Linked DNA regions of Homo sapiens: region 2 is linked to region 1. The links are contacts of gene promoters, found by promoter capture Hi-C in human tissues and cell types (Jung and others, 2019). All regions are on one chromosome and are shown on one strand. Each heading gives the region's core, a stretch centred on a gene start or on the middle of the fragment in contact. The rest is flanking DNA. Distances are from core to core; before and after follow the strand shown. Region 1 holds the start of FDPS (farnesyl diphosphate synthase). Region 2 overlaps ARHGEF2 (Rho/Rac guanine nucleotide exchange factor 2).

Evidence for each region. The method cuts DNA at HindIII sites, captures the fragments that hold promoters and counts their contacts. A contact is called where the count stands out against the background at its distance.
Region 2: a contact is called between a fragment that was not itself captured here and the fragment with the promoter of FDPS in region 1, in 1 of the 25 tissues and cell types used here (dorsolateral prefrontal cortex).

What each region holds. Positions count from the first base shown.
Region 1 is chr1:155,306,561-155,310,896 of GRCh38, reverse strand. It overlaps FDPS (farnesyl diphosphate synthase), which reads right to left and starts at 2,031. Exons shown (of 11, transcript NM_002004.4): 1 at 1,932-2,031; 2 at 932-1,108; 3 at 692-854. The coding sequence starts at 1,107. It also overlaps a transcript of PKLR not described here. RefSeq lists enhancers at 1,672-1,841, 2,172-2,301, 3,204-3,273. The HindIII fragment of the contact is 6,116 bases long and covers 433-4,336 here.
Region 2 is chr1:155,945,342-155,949,677 of GRCh38, reverse strand. It overlaps ARHGEF2 (Rho/Rac guanine nucleotide exchange factor 2), which reads left to right. Exons shown (of 22, transcript NM_001162383.2): 22 at 1,663-2,824. The coding sequence ends at 1,736. Among named protein-coding and RNA genes, the nearest start is that of MIR6738, 3.8 kb to the left of the region's middle. The HindIII fragment of the contact is 6,087 bases long and covers 1-4,336 here.

The DNA of each region.
Region 1 (4,336 bases), core at 782-3,281:
TAGAATAGGGGTTTCTAATGATACAATAACTTCACTCAGGCCCCAGGGAGATAGGACAATATCAGACTGCCTTCTTCCCCGGTCTCTGCCAACCTAACAGCTTCTGATTTCAGGACACAAAATCTAAGACTTGCCAGGTTCAAGGCCTCCACCCCCAAAGCAAAGCAGTTTGGATGACCCACCTTCCATCAGAGCCAAAAGTCCGGTTGATGGACTGAGTAAGTATACTTGCCCAGGCCCCAACCTCTCCAGAGCAGACTCGAGTCCCTCAGGTAAAAGCTTTCTCGGCCAGGCGCGGTGGCTCACACCTGTAATCCCAGCACTTTGGGAGGCCGAGGTGGGTGGATCACCTGAGGTCAGGAGTTCGAGACCAGCCTGGTCAACACAGTGAAACCCCGTCTCTATTAAAAATACAAAAGTTTGCTGGATGTGGTGGCACGCACCTGTAATCCCAGCTACTCAGAAGGCTGAGGCAGGAGAATCACTTGAACCCAGGAGGTGGAGGTTGCAGCAAGCCGAGATCACACCATCGCACTCCAGCCCAGGTGACAGAGCAAGGCTCTGTCTCAAAAAAAAAAAAAAAGCTTTCTCTCACATCTGTCAAAAGTCCCCCATAAGCCACAGGTGAATGCCACACAGGTACAGAGCAACTGAACCAAAGCCTTACTCCCCCAAGTCATGAATCCCTCACCTCCTTGAGCCGGGCAATAGCATCTCCTATCTCTGGGTGCCCCATCTCATCCTCAGTCAGCACCCTAACGATCTGGGAGAAGTGCTGAACGAAATCCTGCTTTTCTTGGGCATAAACATCTGAATTCTGGTCTCCGTTCATTCTGAGGGAGGAGCAAAGGGCTCTAAGTAGAAGAAAAACAAGTCAGAAACCTGATCAGCTGCTCCCCTCCCCAAGGCCCCTCACCCCAACCACACTCACCGAGGTTCCTCTGTCCACGCTTGGCACCAGCAGCGGGCACTGTGCCAGGCCAGGACTGGGTACCCGTGCACCAGGGAGGGCCGCCGTAGGGAACCCAGCCACCTCTCCCGGGGTGCCCAGTAGGGGGCTGGCAGCAGGAAGACCCCCACAGATCTCAACCAGCGGGACAGGGGCATCCTGGGAGTGGCATAGGGAGGGGGCACTAAGCACTCCCTGCAGGGGCAAGCACCAAAGGCAGAGGCATGGTGGCAGCTCCCCAGATAACTCCCACCCCAGCCTTAGCCCAGAGTGCCCCTCCCTCTTGTGGAATGTGCTTGGGGACAATTACAGGAAGGATACGCAGGGAACAAAAAAGTATGGCTGGGTGACTGAGACCCAACTAATCACCACTTACAATAAACAGGCTAGAACTCAGTGCCTTCAAGATGGCGTGCACAAGGCTGGGTAAGGAGGCGGTACAGAGTAAAGTACCCCAGGATTAGGGGCTGAAAGGACCCTTAAGTCATCCTATTTTACACAAGCCAAACTGAGGCTCTAGGAGGTAGGAAGATAGTAGAGGCAGAGCCAAATCTAGAACCCAGGTCTCCCCTGGGCAGTGGAGAGGGGTGCCCAGGGTCTGAGTTACGCCCCAAGGAGGAAAGAAGCATTGGAGCGAGAACCCATGGGTGCTGCATCCATATGGTCCGGGGTGCTTGAACCGCGCGTCCCAAGCCCCACAGGAATCGCTAGGACTGAGCAGATAGGCTCGGAGCAACTCTGGACGGGAGAGAAGGGCTCGCAGCAAAGGAGTAAACCGGGGTCCGGGCATATTGGGGATTCCAGGAAAGCACAAGGGCAGAGTTGGGAAGTCTCCACACCCCTAGAAGGCCAGCCAGTCTAGCCCACCGACCTTCAAAACGGACACAACAGGCTGGCCTTCCGATGCCTCACAGTATCGTTACAGAAGTAAGGCCCGGTCTCGGCCCCCTTCCTCCAAGGCCCAGCACACATCCTCTCTCACCTGTTCCCAGATACGGATTCCTGCTCGGTCCCGCTTGTTGGCGGGTACTCCTAAAAGCAGAATCCGCTCCGCGATCGGCTCTGTGGGTCGAGTAGTTCCCGCTCTCCCCACACTAAGGGCGGAAATATATAATTAGACTACAACTCCCAATGTGCCCGCGGGAGGGACAGATAACGCGATCCTGCGTGTCCTGGCTGGGCGAAGATGAGCCGCGCTGATTGGCTGCTGGCCGTCGTGTGAGCATGGCGCACTGTGGCACTGTGACGGACGACCAATGGAAGGGCTGAAGTCTAGAGGTCGCGGCTGGAGGCGTCAGTGCCGGAAGCGAGCCAGGCTGGGAACGTCCCCGCTGTGGCTTTGGCTGCCTGTCTTACTCAAGTTTTCATTATCTTCCTGGGCAGCTGATTGGCACGTTAGTAAAACGCAGCAGGACTAGCTTTCTCACTTATTAGTTCTCTAACTTTAGGCAAATCATTTAACGTCTCTGATCCTCAGTGAACTTGCTTGAAACTAGCTTTCCTCATCTGTTGAATGAGGGTGGTAATACCATGAGGTAATGTGTGCAAAGTGCTTTAAGGGCTTAAGAAAGATGAGTCTTGGGCCGGGCACGGTGGCTCACGCCTGTAATCCCAGCACTTTGGGAGGCCGAGGCGGGTGGATCATGAGGTCAGGAGTTCGAGACCAGCCTGACCAATGTGGTGAAACCCCGTCTCTACTAAAAATACAAAAAAAAAAAATTAGTCGGGCGTGGTGGCGCGCGCCTGTAATCCCAGCCACTCAGGAGGGCTGAGGCGGGAGAATCGCTTGAACTCGTAAGGCAGAGGTTGCAGTGAGCTGAGATCCAGCGAACCACTGCACTCTAGCTGGGGAGACAGAGCAAGACTCCGTCTCAAAAAAAAAAAAAAAAAAAGATGAGTCTCACACTTGTAATTCCAGCACTTTGGGCGGATCACCTGCGGTCAGGAATCTGAGACCAGCCTGGTCAACATGGCAAAACCCCTTCTCTACTAAAAATACAAAAATTACCCAGGTGTGCTGGTCCGCGCCTTAATTCCAGCTACGTGGGAGGCTGCAACCTCGCTTCCCGGGTTCAAGTGATTCTCCTGGATTACAGGTGCCTGCCAGCATGCCCAGCTAATTTTTGTGTTTTTAGTAGAGAGGGGGTTTCTCCAGATTGGCCAGCCTGGTCTCGAACTCCTGACCTCAAGTGATCCAGCCACCTCGACCTCTGAAAGTGCTGGGATTACAAGTACGAGCCACTTGGCCCAGGCAGTTATTTATTGATTATAAGCTAAACAAGGGTTGGATTATTCATGCCTCTGCTTTGTAGACCATATACAGTTAACTCCCTGATGTCGACACAGCATGTGGTAGGAGTATAGCGTTGAAGACCACCAGAGGTCACTCTTGTTGCCATCTTGGTTTTGGTAGGTTTTGGCCAGTTTCTTTACTGCAATCTGTTTTATCAGCAAGGTCTTTATGACCTGTATCTTGAGCCAATCTCCTATCTCATCCTGTGACTTAGAATGCCTAAACCAACTGGAAATGCAGTCCAGTAGGTCTCAGCCTTATTCTACCCAGTCCCTATTCAAGATGGAGTTGCTCTGGTTCACGCACCTCTGACAATTATGCTAAGTGAAATAAGCCAGACTCAAAAGGACAGATACTGTATGATTCCGTGTATATAAGGTACTGTCACCGGTGGAGGGTGTCCAGGTTCTTGGCATCTTGAACAAAGAATTGGACAAAACACGGCTGGGTGCAGTGGCTCACGCCTGTAATCCCAGAGCTTTGGGAGGCCAAGGTGGGCGGATCACGAGGTCAGGAGTTCAAGACCAGCCTGGCCAACATAGTGAAACCCCATCTCTACTAAAAAATCCAAAATTAGCCCAGCATGGTGGCGCACACCTGTAGTGCCAGCTACTCGAGAAGCTGAGGCAGGAGAATCGCTTGAACCCGGGAGGCAGAGGTTGTGGTGAACCGAGATCGCTCCGGGAGGAATGAAACAGGAGGAATGAACAACTCCAGATGCGCGGCCTTAACAGCTGTAACACTCACCGCGAAGGTCTGCAGCTTCACTCATGAGCCAGCAAGACCACGAACCCACCAGAAGGAAAAAACTCCGAACACATCTGAACATCAGAAGGAACAAACTCCGGACACACCACCTTTAAGAACTGTAACACTCACTGCGAGGGTCCGCGGCTTCATTCTTGAAGTCAGTGAGACCAAGAACCCACCAATTCCGGATACATAAATCTGCATGTGTGAGTGTGGATATTGTGTGAGTGTTAGAGTGGAGTACGTATTTGTGTGTGTGTGTGGAATGGTGGGGAGCTTTGTGTATGTTTACGTGTGTGTATGTGTCTGACCAGGGGGCACCTCGTCTGTTAAGCTGCCCTGAC
Region 2 (4,336 bases), core at 848-3,347, 640 kb before region 1:
CTTGAACGGCTGACCTCGCGATCCACCTGTCTTGGCCTCCCAGAGTGTCGGGATTACAGGCATGAGCCACCACGCCTGGCTAAATTTTTTTTTTTTTTGAGATGGAATTCTCACTCTGTCGCCAGGCTGGAGTACAGTAGTGAGATCTCCGCTTACTGCAACCTCCGCCTCCCAGGTCCAAGTGATTCTCCTGCCTCAGACTCCCGAGTAGCTGGGACTACAGGCACATGCCTCCACGCCCAGCTAATTTTTGTATTTTTAGAAGAGATAGGGTTTCACCATGTTGCCCAGTCTGGTCTCAATCTCTTGACCTCATGATCCGCCTGCCTTGGCCTCCCAAAGTGCTGGGATTACAGATGTGAGCCACTGCACCCGGTCTATTTTATTTTATTTTATTTTATTTTATTTTATTTATTTATTTATTTAAGATGGAGTCTCACTCTGTCACCCAGGCTGGAGTGCAGTGGCACAATCTCAGCTCACTGCAACCTCCACCTCCTGAGTTCAAGTGATTCTCCTGCCTCAGCCTCTCGAGTAGCTGGGATTTACAGGCATGCACTACCACACCTGGCTAATTTTTTTTGTATTTTTTAGTAGAGATGGGGTTTCACCATGTTGGCCAGGCTGGTCTCGAACTCCTGGCCTCAGGTGATTCACCCACATTGGCCTCCCAAAGTGCTGGGATTACAGGTGTGAGCCACCGTGCCTGGTCCCCCAAAATTTTTTTAATTAGCCAGGTGTGGTGGAGTGAGCCTGTAGTCCTAGCTACGGAGAGTGAGAGTGAGGTGAGAGGATCACTTGAGCCCAGCAGGTTGAGTTGACAGTACTCCGTGATTGCTCCAGCCTGGGCGACAGAAAGAGACCCGGAGACCCAGACAGAGGATCTCACTCTAAAATTTTTTATGTTAGAGAGAGGGTCTTGTGCTGTTGCCGAGGCTGGACTCAAACTCCTGGGCTTAAGTGATCCTCCCAAGTAGCTGGGGCTACAGGTACATACCACTGTGCCTGGGAAGGTATAGTTTTTTGTTTTGTTTTGTTTTGTTTTTTTTGAGACAGTTTTGCTCTGTCACCCAGGCTGGAGTGTAGTGGCACAATCTCAGCTCACTGCAACTTCCACCTCCCAAGTTCAAGCAATTCTTGTTCCTCAGCCTCCCGAGTAGCTGGGATTACAGGCGCATGCCACCACATATAGCTAATTTTTGGCATTTTTAGTAGAGATGGGGTTTCACCATGTTGGCCAGGCTGGTCTCCAACTCCTGGCCTTAAGTGATTCTCCCACCTTAGCCTCCCAAAGTGTTAGGATTATAAGCACGAGCCATGGGGCCAGTTTTTAAAGTAAAAAAAGTTTCAAAGAACTTCAAGTTTTTACAGTTGGTTCATGAAATAAAAAATTACCAAAAGCTTTAACCTTAAAGTATTTTGTATTTTCCTAATCAAATTGTATCTTTGGATACTGTAAAAGTGTATCCGGTACCTAGGTATGGATACCTTGCTTACTTTGTTGCCAAAGGTTTTCCTCTCACCCAAGAATTTACAGAACCCTGTCATCCCTTCACAGCCCCAGAGCCCCCTGAGCCTGCAGATGGGGAGGCATTAGTCTAGGGGTACAGTTCCTCATGGGAGTCTCTGCTAACTCACTGGCTTTGTCCTGTCCCCCTTCAGACTTTACCAGAATGCAGGACATCCCGGAGGAGACGGAGAGCCGCGACGGGGAGGCTGTAGCCTCCGAGAGCTAAGGGGGCCCCTCCCCCCTGCCCCGTGCCCCACTGAAGAACATTACTGAGGGGGCTAACCTTGGGGACTCCAATTTGCCAATGATGAGGGAACATTTGAAAGAACTGCAAATTGTCCTTGCCAGCTCTTGGGATCCTTGGATACCTGGGGCCATTTAAGAAGCTAGGGGAATTAGGCCACAACACCCCCTGGGACATCCGAAAGCTACACCACAGATGCCAGTGGTTCATGCCTTCTTCCCGCAACTTTAGGAAAATTTATTTATTTATTGTTTATTAGTTATGGGGGGAGAGGGGAGATTTAAAGGACCAGGGACATGGGAACCAAGCCATAGGGATCAGAGGGCCTTGTCCTTGAACACTACTGGGGTATATTCAGGCTCATCCACGCAGCTGCTGGGTTCTTGCCCTAACGGCCCTCCCCTGCAACATCCGTCTTGGAGGAGAGGCTGCAGCCACAGCACCCTACTGCCCTTTAAATAAAGGAGGGCTGTGGGCAGGGCCATGTCCCTTTCTCCTCTCCCCTCAACCTCTTACTGCTGTTCTCCCTTTCTCCGTCCTTCATGGAAGCCCTGGGAGATAACCTGGCTTCCTGGAGTTGATGGAATAAAGGTTGGGGTGGCCATAATGGTTTGTTGGGGGTGAGGGAAAAAACCCACAGGGACCAGAATGTTTTGTTGTTCTTTTGTTTTCTTTTTTGTACCAAAGTCAACTGCACGTGTTTTATATTTTTAAGAGATCGTAGGCAATTAGAGATCGAAGCCTCCTATCTCCACATCTCTGAAGAAGTTGAGGGGTGGGGGAGAGAATGACTTCTGCCTTCATCTGCAGTAACGGGGGGACCTATACTGACCTCTTCCCCAGCCATTTAGAAACAAGTTCTAGGGTGGGTTGGAAAATCTCCAAGAGCCCTGACCTCATCTTCCACCTCAGCAACCATGACCTGAAACCTCAGCGTGAATTTGGGGGATTTTTCAGTGGAACCCTTGCCCCCAAATGTCGACCAGCCCCCAAATGTCGAAGAATTTTCTTCTTGCCAATTTTGTTGTTTAAAAAAAAAATTCAGGGAAAATTAAAAACCTGGAACTCCATAAGGTACTGTCTTCCATAATGTCTGCCAATTCTGAGGAGGATGGTAGTAGAGAGCCGGGCAGTGACCTAAGTTCCTCTGAAAGGGGCCTTTTCCTCTCACCGCAAGGACAGCCTCTGCCTCACTGAAGAGAGGGGGCACTAACAAAAGTAACCACTGCAAATCTTTTTTTTGTTTTTTTAATTCACAAATACAAGGATAAAAACAAAGGGGCACACAGGTTCCAATGTTGGGAATTCCGGTATCAGGAAAAGTGTGTTCATCGTATTTGTATGCCATGCTCAGCAATCACCTCCACCTATTGCCCCCATCCCCAGTGTCATTCATTGTCAGATCCATCCCCCACTAGGCCCTTGTTGATCTCCATGATGTCGGGCCCTGGGGTTACCCGTCACAGGAGCTGCTCATTTACTGTCCCTCTTTGAGAGGCAGTGAGAGATGAGCTGGTTTCAGTTCTTGGTTTTAGTTGGTTTTACTTCCTGTTCCCAGTTGGTACTTACTTTGGGGCTGTGGGGGAGGGGAGGAGGTGAGAGTCTAGGGTTGTATAAATGCTGGTATGAATTCACATCCCTGTTGGAGCCTGTGGGGTCAGATCAGGAGAAGGGGGCTCAGGCCCTCAGCTAGAAAGAGGAATTGAAGTCACATGGGGAGCAGGCTGGGGGAGCAGCCAGCACCCTCCCCTTCTGTAACTCTCATCCACCAGCATCAAGCCTTTACAAGGTGCTTTCTCAGCCATTACGGGGATCCTGAGAATGGGGAATTGTTCTCATTTTATGGGCCGGGAAACCTAGGTGCACGAAGCTTGCCAGGCCAGGAGGGGGCCGGCCTTCTTAGTTCCAGTCCACCACTTTTCTCTCTTGGCTACTCTGCCTAAAAATACCAGGGCTGGCTGGGTGCAGTGGCTCACGCCTATAATCCCAGCACTTTGGGAAGCTGAGTTGGGTGGATCACTTGAGGCCAGGAGTTCGAGACCAGCCTGGCCAACATGGTGAAACCCCATCTCTACTAAAAATACAAAAATTAGCCGGGCGTGATGGCGGGCACCTGTATTCCCAGCTACCTGGGAGGCTGAGGTGGGAGAATTGCTTGAACCCGGGAGGCAGAGGTTGCAGTGAGCCGAGATTGTGCCACTGCACTCCAGCACTCCAGCCTGGGTGACAGAGCAAGACCCTGCCTGGAGAAAAGAAAAAAAAAAAAACACCAGGGCTTCACATTTCACACACAGGGACACAGGGCTCAGCAGCTGTCTTCCAGGTCAGCTGGAAGTATCTCCGACCCAGAGCTGTGAGGGTGGCACCTTTAGGTGGGGAAGGAAGGTAGGTGGGGGTAGGGTGAGGATATTAGACAGCATGCAGAGACCACCAAGAAAGGGGAATGCAGGCTCTCCCAGAATGCCCCACAGATCCAATGAGAGATGCTGGTCAGCAGAGAACATGGAAACCTGGAGACACAGCCCAGAGTGGGTGTGAAGTCCCCCGCTGCTTTCTTTGAAGCAGTGCTGTCCCTTCTGCCA